Linked DNA regions of Homo sapiens: regions 1, 2, 3, 4, 6 and 7 are each linked to region 5. The links are contacts of gene promoters, found by promoter capture Hi-C in human tissues and cell types (Jung and others, 2019). All regions are on one chromosome and are shown on one strand. The core of a region is centred on a gene start or on the middle of the fragment in contact, and the rest is flanking DNA. Distances in the headings are between cores, read along the strand shown.

Region 1 (3,404 bases), core at 163-2,662, 420 kb before region 5:
AACAAGAGCAAAACTCCATCTCAAAACAACAACAACAACAAAAAAAGTCCCAGTAGTGATAATTTTTTGAAGGAGAGAGGGATAGTGTCTGGGATGGGGCATAAAACACGGATATCTGGGGTGGCTGCACAATTTTGTTTCTTGATCTGCATGGTAGTTATAATAATTCTTCAAGATTTCCATTTTTGATATAGTTTTTTTGCATTTGTAGTATGTTTTCTTGTACAATAAAAGGCTAAAACATCCTAGTAAATATAATCTGTGCATTTATGAAAAGTTATATGTTTATAAGAACAGATACACAAGTCAAAACAGCAACTAGCTAGTGAGTATATAAAATCACCCCTAGAAGCTAAAGAGAATGTTCCAATATGAGGTTGAGGGCTATCCCTCTCCAAATCTATGGGGCCTGAAGGCGCTGGGCTAGGCAGGTTTCCTACCTAACTTTGTCCAGACAGATGAAGGCAGGAAGGATTAGTTTTGATCATGCCTGCTGGGTGTATGAGTCACATTCTACCTGGTAATTATTTTTGACATTTGACAGTTCTAGGCACAACCTTTTGCAGCTCTGAAATCTTGGCAGGCCATTTATTTTTGAAGCTTCATATTTTCCTTTTCACAGGATATACCTATTTGGGTACCCTGTTCAAATTAAGGTAGAGATTTTTGAAGAGTCACAAGCCCGGAGGAAAATGTAGAGTTTCAGGAAAGAACTCATCACTTAGCAACAACAACAACAACAACGACAACAACAACAACAACAACAACAACAAAAGTGTGACCTTTACTTGAAAAATACCAGCCCCTGGCCACAGAACTAGGCTTACAATTTTTCAGAGCAGGCACCAGGTGAATCTTTGTTCCCAAATATTTTCCCTACCTGCCTGTACCACAATGCTGAAATTCTATTCTTAGACAGATAACTCGTTTGACTGGTGAGTTTAAAAATGCAAATTTCCCAAGAAGAAGTAGCCCAGTTAAGACTGTTATGAGACAGTCATACTATGGTGAAAAGAATGCATAAAGAAAGGATCCTGAATTAAAGAGAAAAGCAAAGGACAATTGTAAAGGACACAGAATTGCTGGGAAGAAAAATGCCTGGAGCTTTCCCAAATCAGGCAATAAAAAGGCACTGAGCATCTGCGAGACACGTATGAGGATTTTTTCAATCAGCTTCTTTTGGTTTAAATTGACAGAAACCCCAACTCAACTAAGCTTAGGAAAAAAAGGGTAATCTATTGGCTCATATAATTTAAAAGTACGACTTTTAAATTAGATGGAGTTTCAGGCATGGCTTGATCCAGGTATTAAGCAATACTTTCAAAACTTTGTCTTCTCTGTTTTCCTGCTTTCAGCAGGCCCTCTGCTCCTGTCTTCTCCCAAATATAGTATAAGTTTTTTTCTTTACCCTGATCACTAAAGTAAAAATTGTGAGATAAGCTGTGATTGGCCATGCGCACGTCCTTGAGTCAGTCGAGGTGGCTTCCAGATACAAGGCTCTGGTGGGCCATGTGGGAGTTATTGGCTTTGTCCTGGAACCAGAGGTGGGTCAGCTTCACTGACACACTTGCACCAAGGAAATGGGCGTGGTGTTGCCAGAAAAGAGGGACATGGGTATTGGAGCTTCACATAGCACATGTCCCGCCCAGCAGCCTCTGCGAGTTCCAACCCAGAGTGGCTGTGAAATCAAGTTGCTGGATCACAGCCAGCATCAAAGGAGTATTCTAGAAGAGAATTTAATAGAAGATACCTGAGTGTGTCACATTCTGTAAGAGTCAGTTCTGTGAAACCTTTGTTTGAGTTACACAGGTGCATACGTATCTACAAATGTAAATATGTGTGCATATTTATATACATGTATGTATAAATGTGTGGATAAATATGAATTGTTGACCACGGTTTATGGAAAAAAAGGTGTAAACATGTGTAAATATGTGCAAATATGTGCATATTTATATACGTACATATTTGGACTTATAGGTGTAAATATGTGTGCATATTTATATACATGTATGTGTAAATGTGTGGATAAGTATGAAATTTTGAGTTATATGGAGTTAAATAAAATATATAATCAAAATTACTTTTCCCTCTTTCTTTTTATCTCTTTTTAAATGTGGTTGCTAGAAAATTTAAAATTATACTCATGGCTCATGTTACATTCGTACAAAACAGTGCTGGGGAAGAGCAGAGCAGATGAAAGCTGGTCCCTGGAGACAAGATGTTGGGTAAATTCCTGAGCACCCTCATTTGCACAGTTAAAAGAATGAGAGCCTGCAGTGTGGGGTATTTGTGCATAGTAATGGGATAATTAATAGCACATGGGGAGCGTGTCAGAAACGGAGCTGCTGCTTCTATTATGAAACCATGAGGCCTCATCTCTCCTACTTGATTAGATCTCTGTCAGTTTTACTTTTGTAGAATCGAACAGGCTGCCTGGCTCCCAGCAAGAACTCAATAAATGCTTCATGAATGAATGAATGAATGAAACAATATTAGAAAAGAAATGAGAAAATTTCCCCAAAGACAATATTTACCTTCTTGATGATTTTGATCAAGGACAAGCCTACTAGAGGTTGTAAATCATTTATGATTTGCCTGAAGAAAAGTTATTTGCAAACCATGGCAACCAGGGGATTCACATCAATTCTTCTAACTTCAAACCTGACTCACTTCTTGCTGGTGGGCCTGGAGGTTGCCCGAATCTCCCGTCTGAATGAGCATTTAAGCAATTTCAATTCTTACCTCATTGTTATTTGCCTTTTTCTCTTTTGCTTAAACTTTTGTTAAATAGCCACATCTTTTTCAGTTTTACACTTGATATGTGTAACAAATACCATGTGGCAATTACATGCACTTTGCACGGTAACTTTATGTGGTTTCCCCAAGAGCTATTACAGATATTTATATAGATATTTATGTATAAATCACACACACATACTTTTTCTTCTCTAAGGGCGTTTGATGTAGCAGATTCAGAAATGAAATTTTCAAATTACAAATCCCCATTGGAGGTTGGGGTAAAGCAAAGACAGGCCCTGTAGAGGGAAAAGATGTTATAAACATTAGGGTAAGAAAAAAACTGCCTTCACACCGCAAGATGCTTGAGTCCTGTAGAAACTGGCAAGTGGTTCCTGGGAGAGAAAGGCCTTCAGAGATGTCTTGCCCTCCTTACTCCCTGCCTGTTCCTTTCTGCCCTGAGATTTTGGCGACAGGCATTGACATCACTGTGCAGGGATGAGATTCCTCTGGATATGACAGGGTGGGGTGTGGCACTGCCACTTGCTATCTCTGAGGTGACACACTGTGACCCTTGGACAATTTCCTTAACTCCTTTCAGCCTCAGTTAATTCATCTGTAAAATGAGGATACAGCACTCACCTCACAAGATTTTTAGGAAGATG
Region 2 (2,989 bases), core at 72-2,571, 350 kb after region 5:
GACACCTTAATAAAAAAAGACAATGCACAATCAGAGTTCTTGATACATTAGAAGTATTCCACAATATGGGCTTTTAGAGATGTTTTAGGAGGAAAGGTAAATAAGACTAGTTTGTGTAATAGACAACTTCTAAATCTCAGAGGCTAATTTAACATAATAAACATTTGTCCAATAGAGGTCAAGAGAAAGTTTTGCTTTCATTTAGGGACCCAAGTAAGAGAAAAGAAAGTGAGGATGGGCGTTAGGATGTTTCATTCAGATTGATTTTCAAAGCACCCGGCCTAGAAACAACACTCACATCACCTCTGCATTCACCCGAACTCAGACACGTGTGCCACACCTAACTACAAGGACTGGAAATGTGGTCAACAGAGTGTCCAGGAAGAGCAGGACAAGAATCTTGATGACTACAAGCAGTCTTATGCCACAAGTGTTGAAAAAAGCCAGGACCGAAAGAAGCCAGTTACAAAAGAGAACATATTATATGATTCAATTCATATGCAATACCCAGAACAGGTTAATCTACAGAGACAGAAGTAGATGAGTGGTTGCTTAGGCTGAGAGGAGTTATGGGGGTGTGGAGAGGTGATAATTAAAGGGTGATGAAAATGTTCTAAAATGGATGGTAGTGATGGTTGCACATCACATATATGTGAATATACTAAAAATCATTGAATTCTACATTGCAAATGAATGAATTGTAAAGTAAATGAATTATATCTCAATATAGCCATTTAAATAAATAAATACAATCAACGGATACATAGAAACTCTGTACCATATTAGCAACTTTTCTGTAAATATATAAATATAAATTAAAATTATATTTTTTAAAAACTATTTTTAAAAAGTCAAGATCGATTTCAAGGATAGTGAATATTCTCCCGTAATATCTTCCTTCCACCTTATTCTCAGGCAAAACTGGTGAAAATGAATACCAGAGTCCCAATGCTTCCAGTTAGAAAGTTTCAACTTCGAGGGTGGTTTTCAATCAGTTGAACCTTGGTTTCCTATTCTGTAAAATGGAAGTGATACACTGACTTCAACCGTTTGTTGTATTTATTAAGTAAGATACCAAATTTGAAATACCAGGCATGCAGTTGGCTCTAGATTAAAGCATATTAATTAACTCTTCAAAGGGAAGTGAAATATCAAAAACACAAATAACCCCCCAAAATTGTTAAAGATTTGAATAGACACTTTACAAAAAAAGATATTCAAATGGTCAATAAGCATATGAAAGAGTACTCAATATCATTAGTCACCATAAAAATGCAAAGCAAAACAGCAGTGAGATACCACTACGCACCAAAAAAAGATACTAAAATGGTCAATAAACATAAGAAAGAGTGCTCAACATCATTAGTCACCACAAAAATGCAAAGCAGAACCACAATGAGATACCTCTCCACACTTACCAGAATGGCTAAAAATGAAAACCAACTCTACTGAGTGTTGGCAAGGCTGTGGAGAAACTAGAACTCTCACACATTGCTGCTGGATGCTGAAAATTGTACAATCATTTTGTAAACCCATTGCCACTCTCTGATAAATGGGAATATTCATCTACTCTATGGCCTAGCAATCACACACCTAGACTATATACCAAGAGAAATGAATGTACTATGTTCACAAAACACCTGTACATACATAACAGCTTTACTCACAATAAGCAAAAATTCGAAGCAGCCCAGGTATCCATCAATAGGAAAATGGATAGACAAACTGTGGTATATCCATACAATGGAATAGTACTGAGCAAAAAAAATGAGAGACTATTGATATACATAATAAAATAGATAAATTTCAAAAAAATGCTGAATGAATAAAGGATAAACTAAAGAATATATATGTATTAATATTATTCCATTTATATTAAGTCCTTGAACATAGAGAACTAATCTATAGGGATTGAAAGCAGGTCAGTGGTTACTTGGAGTCAGTTGTATAACAGCACTTGACTGGAAAGAAGCATGAGTTAACTTGCTAGAATGATGGAAGTGTTGTTTTGTTTGTTTTTGTTTTGACACAGAGTCTCACTCTTCATGCCCGGGTTGGAGTGCAATGGAGTGATCTTGGCTCACAGCAACCTCCGCCTCCCGGGTTCAAGTGATTCTCCTGCCTCAGTCCCCCAGTAACTGGGATTACAGGCATGTGCCACCATGCCCAGCTAATTTTGTATTTTTAGTAGAGATGGGGTTTCTCCATGTTGGTCAGGCTGGTCTCAAACTCCCAACCTCAAGTGATCCACTCGCCTTGGCCTCCCAAAGTGCTGGGACTATAGGCGTGAGCCGCCGTGCCAGGCCTGGAAGTGTTTTATATTTAATATATTTTAATATATTATATATATTTTATATATATTTTTATATATTATATATAGTTTATATTTAATGTCAAAATTCATTGTGCTGAACACTTAAAGATTTATACATTGTATTGAATGTAATAAAGTACTATTAATTTAAAAAACAAGGAAATGGGGGCTAATGGAAGGAGAGAATAAACTATTTCATCCTTTTTGCCTTGGATGTAAAAGGGTAGGTGGCACATACATGTTAATTTTCTGCATCTGCATCCTGCCACCTGCCTAACCAAGTCACCAAGGTGCAAAGCCCTGGAATGTCACCTCTAGTTAATATCCTCTAAAGACAGTTCTACACACAGCCACACCCAGTGTCTACTCTGCAGGTCACTGTGTTCCATGTTACAGTAAATAAATAAATACATGAATAATAACCTCTTGGTTATTATTCTAACCAAGATATGTCTTGGATTATGTTTTTCTGAAGTTATATAAAGCTTATAAAAACAGAAAATAAAGTACATTGAAAACATTTCAGAAAAAAAATCCAAAATAGACAAAAATGTAAATGAAGGCTATGAGAAAAAACAACAGAAGATGCATATTTTTTTAAGTTCCAAAATTATGCCAGTCAAAACTCAGGAGCAGAGGAAATGAGAATCCTGGTATGGAATGGCAATCCAAGGC
Region 3 (3,120 bases), core at 596-3,095, 400 kb before region 5:
GTATTCCTTTCTTCCTGGCTTTTAATTAAAGGGATCTATGGTGGATCACTATTATTAAGTCAGGTCTCTATGGCCAGAATGATTCACACAGCTGAAAACACACAAACAAACAAAACCAAAAACCAAACAATGTTCCCCCTTGCCAAACTGATTTCAGCTGGCCCTCTATGCTGCTCCTCTTTTTTTGGTAACAGTTTCTCCAATGACAATGACTCTCTTATCCAAGAAACACATGTTCTCAAGTCAAATGCTCCAATAAGCTGATGATCCAAGCTTCCTGTGAGTGATTTTGGGGCATGAGAAATGCATTGTCCAAGCATCACCCATTGATGCAGCTGGAGATTTAGCAAGTTTGCCCTAGAAAGTTGTCAAGGAAATCTCAGATGAAGATGGTGTTGCAGGTTGAGTTTCCTAGGATGTGGATTTTTGTGATGGAGTTTGGTGTGTGGGAAGTTTATCTAGGAGTGTCCCTTGGAAGGGAAATGTCATAGAAAGGAAGAGGAATCAGTAGTAGGCAGAATACAGGCCGATGGCTGTCTTAGTTGACTTCATGGCAGCTCTGGAGCTAGGATGGCTCTTCAGAGTTGGCCCGACTTGGGCTAAGATAGAACAGCAATCAGATATGGGCTGCCCCAGGAAGGGGCATAACCTCAGACAAAGTGGCTATCTGCAGCTGAGGCAGTCCTAGGAAGGGGCTGACAGTGAAGATTTATGCCAGTAGCACTCCCAATGGCTGAGATTCATTCTGTAAAGGGGGCCTGGTTGGGGCATCCTTATGCCCAACACAGATGGTGCTCCACGTGCCAATGACACATTCCCATGAGAAACACGTGGGTGATTTTGCATCACTCACCACTCTCCATTGGGGATTATCCTCTTATCTCTTTCTTGTTCTTATCTTCTTTAGCTCTGTATCTTATTCTATTTCCTTTCTTCCAAGATAATTCTTTACCTCTAGCTTCTAGCTATGAGAACGCGGAACCATTACCATATGTGTTAGCATTCAGTGGCTTCATCCATATTGGACACTGGCTTGAAGGTTGGCTTTTAAGCACCGATCTGAACCTTTCTGAAGTTTTGGAGCCCGATCTGAACCTCCTCATTCTTCTTTATGGCCGCAGGAGTACAGATGTTCCCCGACTTACGATGGTTCTGCTTACAATTTTTTGACTTTACAGTGGTGTGAAAACAATATACATCCAGTAGAAACCCTACTTCAGATACCAATACTGGAAGTTTTTCACTTTCAGTATGGTGTTCAATAAATTACATGAGAGGCTGAACACTTTGTTTTAAAGTAGGCTTTGTGCTAGAAGATTTTGCCCAACTATAGGCTAATGTAAGTGTTCTGAATGCATTTAAGGTAGGCTAGCTCTGATGATCGGTAGGTTAGGTGTATTAAAAGCATTTTCAGTTCATGACGTTTTCAATTTATGCTGGGTTTATCGGGATGTAACCCCATCATAAGTCAAGGAACATTTGTGTACTGCATCTGTGCCTTCCTCTGATAAAGTTCATTATGCTCTCAGCATATTTCAATCTCCTTCTACAAAAAGAGAACACAAAAAACTAGCTTGGATTTTAAATAAGGCAGAAACCCAGAGGCCACATTCTGTCCTTGATGCTTAGCTTTGCACCATTCCCTGGAGAAAGCTCTTATGTCTTTTAGGTTCTGTTGGGATGCTTCTTTACACATGCTTACATGGCCTTGTTCCCAGTCTTTGCCCCTTCAAAAAATGAGCTGGCTGTTCATTAAGAGTCATGCAGCTGAGCTCATACCCATGAATTTTTCAGGGTATATTACTGAGTGTCCTTTAATCCCTAAGACTTGTAGATCTTGGAGGGCTGGATCTCTGAACAGAGAGGCCCAGGTTCCCATCCCTGTAGCATCAGCAATGACAGCTGCTTCCCATTTGCTGCTTAGATTCAGCTGAAACTCATCGGAAATCAGATCTGATGGTGGCCTCAGTTCTGATGACTACACTAACTTCATCCGATCAGATTTCCAGTGAGTCAGGCTGGTTGCTGAGCCCTTTGTCCTGTTGTTTCCTTTAGACTAGCTTGGGTTGGTGGTGCTTCATGAATAATCCATGCACATTAACCAGCTGCATGCATAAAGGCATTTCCACTGTGTCTTTGCCATGAAATTTTATGTGGTTCTGATGTAATTCATAAATAACCAAGAAGAGCCAGACCCTGACTTAAAGTATCTAGAAACCTTAGAGAATCCTTTCAGGTTTCCCAAGAGAACGCATGGTAGTAACTTATCTCTAAATGGTTATAACAGGGATATTTTCCCTGGAGAGTTTTTAATGTCACTGTTGGCTGTATTGCAGGGACAAGGAATATATGGAAATGAAGATAACTTCTCAAAGTGTTTGAAACAAACTTTTATTTCAGTTTCTGGGGTTCTTTTTGGTTTTGGCTATTGCCTTAATCACCAAGTGGTGTGGGTTAAAACAAAAGCCATAATTAAATTGAACGCAATTTGGGGAAAAAACGTTGGGCAACTCTTTGCTTAAACAGAAGCAGGTGGTACTGGAATGCTTAATGGAAGTGAGCTGTGAGGAGGGAATGCAGATTTTTTTTTTTTCATTGAAAACAGTTAAAAATACTTGTGGTCTTTTATGCCAGGCTATGATCAAGATTTTATATATATCTGTGTGTATCTCCCAGTTTCAGGAAAACTGTGATGGAAATGCAATATAGTTTGAATTAGAGAGTGGTCTTTTGTGGTAAGAGAGGATGGGATTTTGTATGTGTGTGTGGTGTTTATTTCCATGGTTGTTTTAAGTAAAGATGTTCTCCTATTCTAGTAAAGATGTGATTTCACTTATACTCCATTCAGGAACTCATCTGTAGAGTAAAGCAATATGTTTTACATAGCTAGCTTTCATAAATGGAACGAAGGATGGATAGGAGGATGTGGCCATGACCCCACTTGCTGCGGGGGATGAGAGAGCCAATCTTGTTGACAAGGCAGGCATCCTATTCTTCTCTAATTGCTCAAGAGTTTTCCTTTCAGAGACTGTTAAATGAAACTTTCCCAGTAGAGAAACATGTCTTCAGGCTCAGGAATTAAGATGGGGCCACAGCCCAATTGTGAAATGCCAATTTCCC
Region 4 (3,431 bases), core at 150-2,649, 430 kb before region 5:
AAAGAATACAATGATTGGTATTTTTTCCCACCTACATTTTGGGAGTTTTAGAATTTAGATAAATTTCACTGGGCTCTCTGCTTCTTTCTCTTTCCCTGAATTCCTAACCCACTGAATAACCTTCAGTGTTTATTTAAATTTTCATTTTCTCTTGAAGTGTTCTGGTTACGTCTGCAGATGTTGAAATTGCTTTACAAAAACGTACACATCTCTAGTATTAAAAGATGCTTTTTAAACCTCACAATTTAAAAAATTAATTCCTCTTATATTTGTACATAGATTACTCAGAAAGTTCCTTTAGAAATAAATTCCAGTGACACTGATTTTTTGTTTTTTTTTTTGCATTTTTATTTCAATGAAAAATCTCACTGCTTTTTTTCTTGCATTTGATTGCCCAGCATTTGGTTCCTTTTCCTCTCTGATTGGCTGCTGGTTGTGGTGCAGGCTCCTGCTTCATCATTTTGCATTCTCTCCTTGGTCTTAGGTGTTCTTTCAGCCAGGACCAGGGCCTTCCTGCTCCAGCGAAGCTCATCCACCTGTGGGTCAAGCAACTCCATCTGTCCTCAGGACGCTTTTTGAACACTGGCTCACTTCAGAGCCATAAATGCCTAGGTATGTGAGTTAATCCAGTCTCCTTGGCTGATACAATCCATGACAGGATCACAAGCTGCAGGGTAATAAACATCATTTGGGTGCTAATAAATTTCAAGCTTTGAAAGTAGGTGTTTATGTCTAGCAAGAGATAATGTTGGCAGAAGGGAACTTTCCTGGGGTGTCTGTACATTGTTTTGTAGGAAAGACACCAGTGGCCTGGCAAGATAAATGATCTGAGGTTTCAGGTAGAAGGGACAGGGAGTTATTTAGTAGCAAGAGCCTTGGGCCTACCCAACTGACTTTCCCATGCCAGTCGCAGCTCTGCCCCTGGTATTTCATTCCTCTTTGAGCTCCATAGTTTGTAGCTGGCTCTATCTGTAAAGGGAGACCAACCTAAGCCTTGATTTCTTGGGGAAAGGGGTGTCAATTTTTATTACATTCCTTTTTTTTTTTTTTTGAGATGGAGTCTTGCTCTGTTGCCCAGGCTGGAGTGCAGTGGCACGATCTTGGCTCAGTGCAACCTCCGCCTCCAGGTTTCAAGCAATTCTCCTGCCTCAGCCTCCTGAGCAGCTGGGATTACAGGTGTGCACTACCACACTTGGCTAATTTTGGTATTTTTAGTAGAGACGGGGTTTCATCATGTTGGCCAGGCTGGTCTTGAACCCCTGACCTCGTGATCCACCTGCCTCGGCCTCCCAAAGTGCTGGGATTACAGGCGTGAGCCATCGTGCCCAGACTTTTTATTACATTCTTTGCCAATATTTAGTTTCCCCCTTGCATATCCCTCTCCTTGTGTGATAAAATTTTGTAAGTTTGATTTTTCTATGCAAGATTTTGGATTGGATTAGAGAATAAAATATGTAGAATTTTGTTCTTTGGATGTCTTTAAAAAGAGGGTAAATTCCTGTTTTGGTTGGTCTCTATGGTGTGGTCCGACATGTTCAATTAACTGCTCAGAAAGGACTAATAATTTCTGAATCATCTTTAGCTTATTCAAGACTCTTCCATGATAATGGAGATGCAAAAGAGAGACATAGCACAGACTTGCAACCTAGCTGGGAAGGAAAGAACGGGAAGTATCAAAAATGAAAAAGGAAGCCCAGGGTTGCTTGGTGTGCAGCCTGCCCTGATGGTATGGGTGTGTTCTTTCCAGGCAGAGGGCACATGAGGGCATACAGCCTGGTTTCACCAATTAGATGCAAGGAGCTCCATTTTTATGCTATTTCAGTCCACTACTTTACAAGGTCAAGAACATACTACCAGAAGCCAGTTTAGTGATTTCACCTTTCTTTTCATCCTTCCTACCTTGTTTGTGTCCTAGAGATGGCAGTAAGGATTGGTTAGTATTGGAGGGTGGCTGCTTTGAGATGCTTCTAGTTTCCTTTCTCCATCAGTGACCCCCTCATTCTCATGCACCCACCTTTGCATTGAAGGTCTCTGTCAGGCAGCCATGGACATGTGTTCCCTGCCCTCCAGTTTGGAAGGGCTGCTACATTAATAGGTGAATGTAAAATCAGTTTCTTGGAGTGTAAGGCATCTGACTGTTATACAATGAGTTTTGTGGCCAGAGGGTGAAAAGAGAGTATATAGGCAGTATAAGTCAGTCCTCCGTGAAATGCTTTGGGTGGCCCTGGTGGAACTACTTCTTTATTTTCAAGGGAGGTGAAGTGGTCCAGCATGAAGTTTCTACCAGTGAGAAGTATGTGGGTAAATGACAGCTCCCACCTTTAACTTTTGCCCAGTTGCTAAATCTCCCCTCTCTTTATGCAACATATACCTGACACCCTGATGGATGCTTCTCCCTGCAGGTACCGTTGAGTAATGAGTCCGCAGCTGATTAAATCACGGGTTTCCCATATCTTTCTTATTAGTTCTGCAGCACAGTTCCTTGAGCTGACAGCTGTACAATAGCACCTTTTCAACTGTTTCTGGTTTCATGCCAGAAAACTTATCTTTTAATGATTTTGCACCCACCTCCCAACTCCCAGAGCGAGTAGAGAAAGGGAGTATATTTTGAAAGAAATTCCAAGCTTCTTTTGTGTATTTTTTCACTTGGCAGTCCAGTTTGTCACTGATTAAAAGCATCATGGAAAACAGTTTCAGAACGGCTACATGAAGTCCAAGTTCATCATGTTTTAACACTGCTATAAAATACTTTTTTGAATGTTTACTATGTGTCAGGTACTATGCTCGGTGCTGGCGATAGTGGGTTAGCAAAAACTGTTTTGTCTTAGGCATTCTTTATGATTGTAGCCATCTAAATTGCACACTATGACTATGAAGTAGGTACATTCATGTCTGTTCTGCTCTTTGAAAAAGATCCCATACTAAAAGGTACAGAACAAAATCTTTTTTTTCCTCTATTTTCCATAACCCAGGAGATACTGCTCTATAAAACTCATTTTTGTATCAATTTCTTGAGAACCTTGTTACTCTCAGGAATCACCAACCTCAATTAACTGGGCTCTTCCTAAATAAATTAGTTTGCTTTGATTTTATGGGCACAGTGGAGTCTGGAACAGTTGTGTTTCCCTATTTTCAGAGATATTTAAAGCTATGGAGACACCAAGGTGGTAAAACATACATTTTTTTTCTCCTAACACTATTTCTGATCTGATTTATTTTCCTCCTCGGTTACCTTTTGTGTGATTTTCTCACTTATTTAATTTTTTCCATATTCAGTACAATTTGATTACCTATAGTCCCCATGTTGTACATTTGATCTCTGTACTTGTTCATCCTATACCTCTGCTACTTTGTATTTTCTGATCTACATCTTCCCATTTTCTATTCTGTCCTGTCCCCTCTCCAGCTCCCCTCTCTGCTGAGAGCCATTT
Region 5 (3,063 bases), core at 160-2,659:
TCGAGGCCGTCGCACACGCAGTCGTTGAGCAGCGCCGCCTTGGGCATAGCCAGCATGTCCTCAATGACGGTGCGGCATTCGTCCGTGCAGCGCAGCCCGTTGAAGACTTTGCCGCAGTAGGTCAGGTAGCGGCTCAGCGCCAGGTTGCAGCGGCTGTCGCGGTCGCAGCGCCGCCGGGCCTCGGTGCAGCCCATGACCCCGCCCGCGCCGGGGCCGCCCGCGCCGCCGCCGCTCGTCCGGGGCAGGCACGGCTCAATGGCGCGCTTGGTGGACTTGCAGTTCTCGTCCTGCGCGCAGTCACAGTCCTCCAGGGCGGGCCCGCGGCGCGTGTGGTTGAGCTGAATGAGGGCCGAGATGCAGTGACTCGGGCAGCGCCAGCGCGACGAGAAAGAGGCGGCCGAGGCCGGGAAAGCGGCGGCGGCGGCCCCGGGCGCGTCGCCCCCGCCGTGCTGCGCCAGCACCGGCGCGCACGCCTCGGCGTACTGGTTGTAGGCGTAGCTGCACTCCGGCTCCCCCTGGCACTGCAGCAGCGCCTGCCAGCAGATGAGGCGGCGGCCGTGCGCCAGCCCCGATCCCCGCGGCGCCGAGCCCAGCAGCTGCAGCAGCGCCATCAGGCACAGCCAGGCGCCCGGCACTGTCCCCCCGCGGGCCTCGCCGCCGCCGCCCAGCAGCGCGGCCACCATCGCGGGCAGCGGCGGCCGCCGGGAGAGGAGGGGAAAGGAGACGAGGCGCGGGGAGCGGCGGACGCGGAGCCGGTGGAAAAGTTTGTCCAAGTCCTGCCCACTTCTTGCATGAGTGTCTTCATAAATCCATGCGCGCCGCTGGCTGATGCCCCGCTGGTGGCAGAAGGTCCCCTTTCGCTCTGGCTGCGGTGGCTTCCTGGAAATGAACAGCTGTCGAGATCTGGTCCCGCTCTCCCACCCGAGAGCCCTCCGCTCGGCCCCCGGTGGTGGCGGGAGAGGCTCACTGTCGCCCCGGGGGGGTGCGGGCCGCGGGGCCGTGGCGGGGCTGCAGGACCGCGCGGCGCGGCGGGTGCATTTTGCTCCGCGCCTGCAGATCCGTTGTGCGGCCGGCTGTCCCCGTGCCGGCTGCTCGCGCTGCGGCCGCGGCGGCTCCTTCCTCCTGGGCTCAGTGCCTCGCCGCCGCCACCGCCGCCGCGGTCTCTCGCATCGCGCCGCTTCCTGGCCCGGCGTCCGCGCGCTGCCCGCCTTCCCGCGGCCCGGCCGCCCCGCGTCCCCTCCCCCTCCGCCCGCGGCAACCCCGGCCTCCGCAGAGCTCCGGGGAGCTCTTTCCGGGAAGCGCGGGGAGAACAAGAAAGTCGGCGCTGCCGGAGAGCGGCTCCCTGGCTTCACTCGGCGGCAGCTTCTCGGGTGACCAAGAGCCCGGGGAGCGGATCCGCTGAGCCCGGCTGCAGACTCGTTAGCAGCGAGGCTTTAAATACAAAAGTGGGCCGGGAGCCCCCGCGTGGTGCCGCGGTGCCCCCTCATTATGCATGCATGGAAAAGCAAACAAACAAAAACATTAGCAACGCTCCTCCGGCTCGCCGAGCCCCGGCCCCGCGCGCTCCGAGCCTGCCCGCTTTCTCCTTTCTCCACTCTCTTTCGCCCTTTGCTCGGCCCCCTTTCCCGGCTTTTCGAGATGCTATTGGTCCTGCCTGTTGTTGTTGAAAGTTTTTTTTTTTTTTTTTACGAGCCGCTGGAGTGGGGTTGCGGAGTGGGGGAGGGCGGGAGGGTGGTGGGCAGCTCACATTCAGGCATTCAGGGCTTGAAAGGAACGGCTTAGGGAGCCTGACGGAGGCCCGGAGCTCCTCCTACTCTTAAGGAGGCTCGGATATGCAGCCCCAGCTCGCGCACAGAACCAGCGGGCAGGGCTTAGGGGCAGCTGTTTGCATCCGGCTCAGCCACGGGCCTTTTTTGTTTGTTTTTTTTTTCTTTTTTTTTTTTTTTGTAGTTTTATTAATTCTCGCTGGCCCCCATCTGTGCTTTCGACTGGATTCAGAACTCAGTTTATCTTCCAGGCTCCCTGTCTTTGGGTCTTGATCACCACAGAGGGGAAGGGGAGAATCCAGAGATAAAATGTGAGACTGAAACTGTTTTAAAGAAGCATACAAGAAAGAAGCACACACTTTATTAGGGAGATGTTGATGAGATGCTTACAACCCGCCCGCCACCCCCCAGCCCCAGCTAGGCCATCTGGCAGGTACCGCCCGTGCGCCAGGCATCGTTTTCAAATTGCAAGACCGAAATCCAATCAACCGAAATAATTTCTTAGGAAGATAAGCTTGCAACACGTGCAATAATGAAAAAATTTAACTAGCATTAAAAATATTCAGGAATGTCGAGCAATTACCACCTGGCCGCAGTCACAGGACAGAAGACGGAATAAATGGGCACGCACCAAAGGTTTATATTAAAGTGTAAGTTTCAGCCCCTCAGTATATTTAAGGGAGGCTGCTCTGCAGAGGAAACCTCTGCCTTCTCGGCGAGGGAGTTTCCGAGCTACCTTAACTGGGGCGCAACGCAGCCTTCCGCCACCAGAGGCAGCGGGCGTCTGCGGCCTGTCAAAAACTGGCGCTTTTTTCCTCCCCTTTCCGTGGAGAGACTATCAACTCCATCTGTCACAAAAATTAAGGCTAAATCTCCTCTCCAGAAGCAGAGGGAGCCGGGGCTCCGACGCGCTCAGCGTCGGGCTGTCTGCCTCTCCCTAGAGGCCAAGTGAATTTGAAATGGCAAAAGTCACAGCCGGAGGCCCAGCACTAGGAGATTCCTCCGGCTGCGGGAAATCTTCCTGTACCTGCTGAAGCTGCTGCGTTCCTCAGAGGCGCTTGGTCTGCCGTGGGAAGCTGCACCTCTGCAGTCCCCAAAACCAAAATCAAACCTTAAAAGAGCCAGACTGAGGTAAGGCGGACCGTCTTGCTCTGATTTGAGTATTGGTAGACAAACAGCAATATAAATCGATACTAAAAAAATCCAGAAAGGCTGCAACTTCATGGCACATCAAAACAACCATATCCCTGGCTCTCTGTCTCTTTTTTTTTCTCTATTATTTGGAGTTGTCCTCTCA
Region 6 (3,120 bases), core at 419-2,918, 380 kb before region 5:
GAGAGCCAAATGTTAATCCTGTATCGGTGCCTCTGTGTGGTCTCTTTTTCTGTCTGTGAGCAACTCCCCAGCCAAATCTAGGCTTGACTGGAAGGGCTGGACTTTGCCAGAAAATTCTTTAAAAAGATGAGAAAAAGTAAAAAAAAATAAGAATGAAGAGGAATGAAAACGCAAACCTTTTGGTTCAATATCAAAACTCAAGTGAAATAACCAGTTGCACACAGTTGGTAATATTTCCCAGTTTAGAGGGCACAGCAAGGACTTCTTGGGGATTTGTTCTCTCCAGGTCTTCTCCTGATGTCCTGTATCATCTATTTGTTCGTTCGTTCATTCATTCATTCATTTGTTCATTCATTCATTCATTCATGGGTCCTAAAAGGAACACAGGATCAATTTGCAACAAACCCAGTCCCAAAATATTTCAATTTTTTTCTGTCTACAAGACTCACCTTACTTTATTTTGTTTTTAATTGACAAATAATAATGGTGTATTTTTATGGGGTACAATGTGATATTTTACACATTGCAGAAAGATTCAATACGGATGATTAACCTGATATCCCTCACCTTACCAACTCTCTTTTTTTTGTGGGGAGAACGTTAAAAATCCATTTTTAAGCAATTTTATGATATATAATACATTATTATCAGCTGTGGTCACCATGTAGTGCAATAGATGACTAAAACTTATTTTTCCAGTACTGACATTTTGCATTCTTTGATCAACATTTTCTTTTTCCTCATTCTTCCCCCTCTGTCGATCTCTGGTAACTACCTTTCCGCTCTCTCTTTCTATGACATGGACTTTTTTAGATCCCATATATAAAAGGGATCATACTGTATATGTCTTTCTGTGCCTGGCTTAGCCTAATGTCCTCCCGTTCCATCTGCATTGTCAAGAATGACAGAATTTCTTTCTTTTTATTTTATTTTATTTTATTTTATTTTTTTTTTGAGACAGCGTCTGGCTCTGTCGCCCAGGCTGGAGTGCAGTGGCGCGATCTCGGCTCACTGCAAGCTCCGCCTCCTGGGTTCACGCCATTCTCCTGCCTCAGCCTCTCAAGTAGCTGGGACTACAGGAGCCCGCCACCGCTTCCGGCTAATTTTTTGTATTTTTAGTAGAGACGGGGTTTCACTGTGTTAGCCAGGATGGTCTCGATCTCCTGACCTCATGATCCACCCACCTCGGCCTCCCAAAGTGCTGGGATTACAGGCGTGAGCCACCACGCCCGGCCTCTTTCTTTTTAAAGGCTTTATAGTATTCCATTGTGTATAGACAAAACAGTTTCTTTATCCATTGATGAACACTTGGGTTGCTTCCATATCTTGACTATTGTAAATAATGCTGAAATGAACTGGGAGTGCAGATAGCTCTTCAACATACAGATTTCAATTCTTTTAGCTATATATCTAGAAGTGGAGTTATTGTATCATATGGCAATTCTACATTTAGTTTTTTGAGGAACCTCTGTATTAGTCCATTTTCATACTGCTGTAAAGAACTGCCTGAGACTGGGTAATTTATAAAGGACAGAGGTTTAATTGACTCACAGTTCAGCATGGCTGGGGAGGCCTCAGGATACTTAGAATTATGGCAGAAGGCAAAGGGGAAGTAAAGAATCTTCTTCACAAGGTGGCAGGAAGGAGAAGTGCTGAGTGAAAGGGGAAGAGCCCCTTATAAAACCATCAGATCTCATGAGAACTCACACGTTATCATGAGAATAGCATGGGAGAAACCACTCTCATGATGCAATTACTCCACCTCGTCTCTCCATTGACATGTGGGGATTATGGGGATTGCAATTCAAGATGAGATTTGGGTGGGGAAATGAAGCCTAACCATATCATTTCACTCCTGACACCTCCCAAATCTCATGTCCCTTTCACATGTCAGAACCTATCATGCCTTCCCAACAGTCCCCCAAAGTCTTAATTTTTTCCAGCATTAACCCAAAAGTCCAAGCCCAAAGTTTCATCTGAGACATGGCAAGTCCCTTTTGCCTATGAATCTGTAAAATCAAAAGCACGTTAGTTACTTCCTAGATACAATGGGGGTACAGGCATTGGTAAATACACCCACTCCAAATGGGATAAATTGGCCAAAACAAAGAGGCTACAGGCCCAATGCAAGTCCAAAACCCAGATGGGCAGTCAAATATTAAAGCTACAAAATGATCTCCTTTGACTCCATGTCTCACATCCAGGGCATGCTGATGCAAGAAGTGGGTTCCCACGGCCTTGGGAAGCTCCGCCCCTGGGCTTTGTAGGGTACAGTCCCCTCTCTTTGCTAAAGCATAGTGAGAGTCAACTTTGCTCCAGTTCCCCATAAGTTTCTTGTCTCCATCTGAGACCACCTCAGCCTGGAGTTCATTGTCCACTTGGTCAAAGCCATTCAACAAGTCTCTATGAAGTTGCAAACTTTTCCACATTTTTCTGTCTTCTTCTGAGTCCTCCAAACTGTTCCAACCTCTGCCTGTTATCCAGTTCCAAAGTTGCTCCCATATTTTCAGGTATCTTTATAGCAGTGGCCCACTACCTTGGTACCAATTTACTGTATTTACTATATTAGCCTGTTTTCATACTGCTATACAGAACTGCTCGAGACTGGGTAATTTATAAAGGAAGGAGGTTTAATTGACTCACAGTTCAGCATAGCTGGGGAGGCCTCTGGACACTTACAATTACGGCAGAAGACAAAGGGGAAGCAAGGCACCTTCTTCACAAGACGGCAGGAAGGAGAAGTGCTGAGTGAAGGGGAAAGAGCTCCATATAAAACCATGAGATCTTGTGAGAACTCACTCACTATCATGAGAACAGCTTGGGGGAAACTGTCCCCATGATTCAATTACCTCCACCTGGTCTCTGCCTTGACACATGGGGAGTACAGGGATTACAATTCAAGATGAGATTTGAGTGGGGACACAGAGTCTAACCATATCAACCTTCATACTATTTTCCAAAATGGCTGTACTAATTTACATTCCCACCAGTGGTATGCAGGGTCCCCTTTTCTCCACATCATCACCAATACTTATCATTTGTCTTTTTGATAATAGCTATTCCAAAGGGTATGAGGTGATATCTCATTGCAATTTTAATTCACATTTCTCTGATGATTAG
Region 7 (2,958 bases), core at 278-2,777, 370 kb before region 5:
GGACTTTTTAAAAAGGAGTTCCTGTCATCTCCTCCGTGTTGGAATCATTTGAGTTTGCGCAACCGCATTTATTCCTGTATACTTATTTCTAAGTGTTTCTCAAGCTTCTGGAAGTGCTCTCAGCAATTCTCAAAGGTCTGTGCTTTGGTGTCTTGTTTCAGGCGGGCCTTTTAGTCTCTGGATTATTTCTACTGGGATGGATACTCTGCTCTATTTCATCCCCTCAAACTGATGCCTGAGAACAGCCCAGGCCCAGGTCCTGGCTGTGCCAGTTCTGTACCACCACCAAAGGCAGTGGGGTGGGGCAGGAGATAGAATCTGGTCGGTCATCTAAGCAGAGCTACCTGGGGGCTCCCCTCCTCCAGCATCCTCTCCCTTCTGTCTCTGCCCTGCTGTTCATCCAATACGCATTTGCTGAATACTTACGAAGCACAAGGCTCCATCCCCACCACCATGAAATATGAAAAGCTAGGTGCAGAAACACCCCCAAATCATGTGCAGGTGGGATTCCTGTGGAACTTCTGAATGTAGTGTCGAGAAAATGTCACTAGAGTTCAGGTGATGAATTAGCTTTGTTCCTTTGGAATGCATTGGTTGTAAATCCCTTTTCTCTCTCTCTCTCCCCCCCCCCTTTTTTTTTTTTTTTGAGACAGTTTCGCTCTGTGGCCCAGGCTGGAGTGCAGCGGGGCGATTAATCTCGGCTCACTGCAATCTCCGCTTCCCGGCACAAGTGATTCTCCCACCTCAGCCTCCCAAGTAGCTGGGATTACAGGTGCACGTCACCATGCCTGGCTAATTTTTGTGTTTTTTGTAGAGACAAGGTTTTGCCATGATGCCCAGGGCTGGTCTCTAACTCCCGGTCTCAAGCGATCCACCCACCTGGGCCTCCCAATGTGCTGCGATTACAGGTGTGAGCCACTGAGCCCAGCCAACCTCTCCTCTTTTTAATCTGTCTTCCATCTTTATCTTCCACAGGGCCGGCCTTACTGTATACAGAGTAAGTGAGTGGCACTCAGGGAAGAACAGGAAACACAGCACTAGACTAGAAATGGACGGTGCAACTTAAGGGCTAAATACTGGGGGCAGGGTGTTTGGAGCTACACTTTTCATCTGTGCCATCAAATATCTATTACTTGAAATGTGACTAGTGCAACTGAGCCTGGTTTTCAAATTCTATTTATTTATTTAAACTTAAATTTTAAAATGATAACTGCTTCAATTATTGGGAAGCTTTTAAGTATCTTTAGAACAACTTGAGTACATACATTTACTTTTTCAATTGTACATTTTATGAAATAAATGCAGATGAAGTATTTCTGATGAAAATTTAGCATCTAAATTGAGAAGTGCTAGAGTTTGAAATATTTTATATTCTTTTCCTTAATGAGAAAAAGAAAAGCATATAAAATATTTCAATATTTTATATTAATTACATGTGAGAGATACACATTTTGAAAGAGTAAATGAATGAGTCGAATAGAAACATTCTTGTTATTTGAAATGATCAGCCACCAACAGAGTTAACATTTATTAGGTGTATACTGTGCTCTGTATGTGCATACAGTGCACCAATTTTTGTGCCTCACTAATATTTACATTCCTTGGCTATTGTTAAAAAGTAAAAAAATAACAGATGCCAGCAAGGTTGTGGAGAAAAAGGGACACTTTTACACTGTTGGTGGGAGTGTAAATTAGTTCAACCATTGTGAAAGACTGTGTGGCGATTCCCCAAAGACTTAAAGACAGAAATATCATTTGACTCAGCAATCCCATTACTGGGTATATACCCAAAGGAATATAAATCATTCTATTATAAAGACATATGCACGCATATGTTCACTGCAGCGCTATTCACAATAGCAAAGACATGGAATCAACCTGAATGTCCATCAGTGACAGACTGGATAAAGAAAATGTGATACATATACACCATGAATTACTATGCAGCCATAAAAAGAACAAGATTATGTCCTTTGCAAAGACATGGATGGAGCAGGAGGCCGTTATCCTTAGCAAACTAACACAGGAACAGAAAACCAAATACCACATGTTCTCACTTATAAGTGGGAGCTAAATGATGAGAACACATGGACACATAGAGGGGAACAACAGACACTGGGTCCCACTGGAGGGCAGAGGGTAGGAGGAGGGAGAGGAGCAGAAAAAATAACTAATGGATACTAGGCTTAGTACCTGGGTGATGAAATAATCTGTACAACAACAAACCCCCATGACACACGCTTACCTATGTTAAAAACTGCACGTCCTGCACATGTACCCGTGAATTTAAGATTACAGTTTAAAAAAATTACATTCTTAACCATAATAACAATACAAAGGTAACCACAATCATCACTAACATTTATTGAGCACTTACTCTGTGCCAAGACTCTTCATTTCATCTTTCAAAAAATCCTAGGAGGTTGGTACTGTTTCTACCCTTTCCATTTCAAGATGGGAAAGTTGATGCTTATAGAAGTCAAACAACTTGGCTGGGCACGGTGGCTCACACCTGTAATCCCAGCACGTTGGGAGGCCAACGTGGGCACATCACGAGGTCGGGAGATCGAGACCATCCTGGCAAACACGGTGAAACCCTGCCTCTACTAAAAATACAAAAAATTAGCCAGGTATGGTGGCAGGAGCCTGTAGTCCCAGCTATTCGGGAGACTGAGGCAGGAGAATGGCGTGAACCTGGGAGGTGGAGCTTGCAGTGAGCGGGGATGGTGCCACTGCACTCCAGCCTGGGCGACAGAGCAAGACTCCTTCTCAAAAAAAAAAAGTTAAACAACTTGCCCAAAATCAGCCATTGAGTAAATGGAAGAAGCCACGAGACTTGAGCCCATGAAACACTTGAACTATGTTTCTTTTCTCTCATATGGTGCACAAAGTCTAAACCCAGGCCTGACACTCTCAGTGTGACCTTAGTTCACAGAACGACCCTGACAAATCAGAGCC

The links. The method cuts DNA at HindIII sites, captures the fragments that hold promoters and counts their contacts. A contact is called where the count stands out against the background at its distance.
Region 1: a fragment that was not itself captured here is called in contact with the fragment with the promoter of GAS1 in region 5 in 1 of the 25 tissues and cell types used here (adrenal gland).
Region 2: a fragment that was not itself captured here is called in contact with the fragment with the promoter of GAS1 in region 5 in 2 of the 25 tissues and cell types used here (IMR-90 fibroblasts and dorsolateral prefrontal cortex).
Region 3: a contact is called between a fragment that was not itself captured here and the fragment with the promoter of GAS1 in region 5, in 2 of the 25 tissues and cell types used here (IMR-90 fibroblasts and dorsolateral prefrontal cortex).
Region 4: a fragment that was not itself captured here is called in contact with the fragment with the promoter of GAS1 in region 5 in 2 of the 25 tissues and cell types used here (H1 embryonic stem cells and bladder).
Region 6: a contact is called between a fragment that was not itself captured here and the fragment with the promoter of GAS1 in region 5, in 1 of the 25 tissues and cell types used here (IMR-90 fibroblasts).
Region 7: a fragment that was not itself captured here is called in contact with the fragment with the promoter of GAS1 in region 5 in 2 of the 25 tissues and cell types used here (IMR-90 fibroblasts and aorta).

What each region holds. Positions count from the first base shown.
Region 1 is chr9:86,529,201-86,532,604 of GRCh38, forward strand. LOC102724080 (a long non-coding RNA gene) reads left to right here. Exons shown (of 2, transcript XR_007061636.1): 2 at 623-2,080. Among named protein-coding and RNA genes, the nearest start is that of TUT7, 180 kb to the left of the region's middle. The HindIII fragment of the contact is 5,489 bases long and covers 1-3,404 here.
Region 2 is chr9:87,291,295-87,294,283 of GRCh38, forward strand. The region is part of intron 1 of LOC105376126 (a long non-coding RNA gene); the gene reads right to left. Among named protein-coding and RNA genes, the nearest start is that of LINC02872, 140 kb to the left of the region's middle. The HindIII fragment of the contact is 3,370 bases long and covers 1-2,989 here.
Region 3 is chr9:86,547,593-86,550,712 of GRCh38, forward strand. No RefSeq gene overlaps it. Among named protein-coding and RNA genes, the nearest start is that of LINC02834, 160 kb to the right of the region's middle. The HindIII fragment of the contact is 5,141 bases long and covers 1-3,120 here.
Region 4 is chr9:86,512,969-86,516,399 of GRCh38, forward strand. All of the region lies in intron 1 of LOC102724080 (a long non-coding RNA gene), which reads left to right. Among named protein-coding and RNA genes, the nearest start is that of TUT7, 160 kb to the left of the region's middle. The HindIII fragment of the contact is 4,230 bases long and covers 1-3,431 here.
Region 5 is chr9:86,946,097-86,949,159 of GRCh38, forward strand. GAS1 (growth arrest specific 1) reads right to left here and starts at 1,410. Exons shown (of 1, transcript NM_002048.3): 1 at 1-1,410. The coding sequence starts at 683. GAS1RR (GAS1 adjacent regulatory RNA) reads left to right here and starts at 2,602. Exons shown (of 7, transcript NR_049794.1): 1 at 2,602-2,897. RefSeq lists silencers at 401-470, 541-620. The HindIII fragment of the contact is 5,107 bases long and covers 1-2,728 here.
Region 6 is chr9:86,564,145-86,567,264 of GRCh38, forward strand. No RefSeq gene overlaps it. Among named protein-coding and RNA genes, the nearest start is that of LINC02834, 140 kb to the right of the region's middle. The HindIII fragment of the contact is 5,641 bases long and covers 1-3,120 here.
Region 7 is chr9:86,580,784-86,583,741 of GRCh38, forward strand. No RefSeq gene overlaps it. Among named protein-coding and RNA genes, the nearest start is that of LINC02834, 130 kb to the right of the region's middle. The HindIII fragment of the contact is 5,159 bases long and covers 1-2,958 here.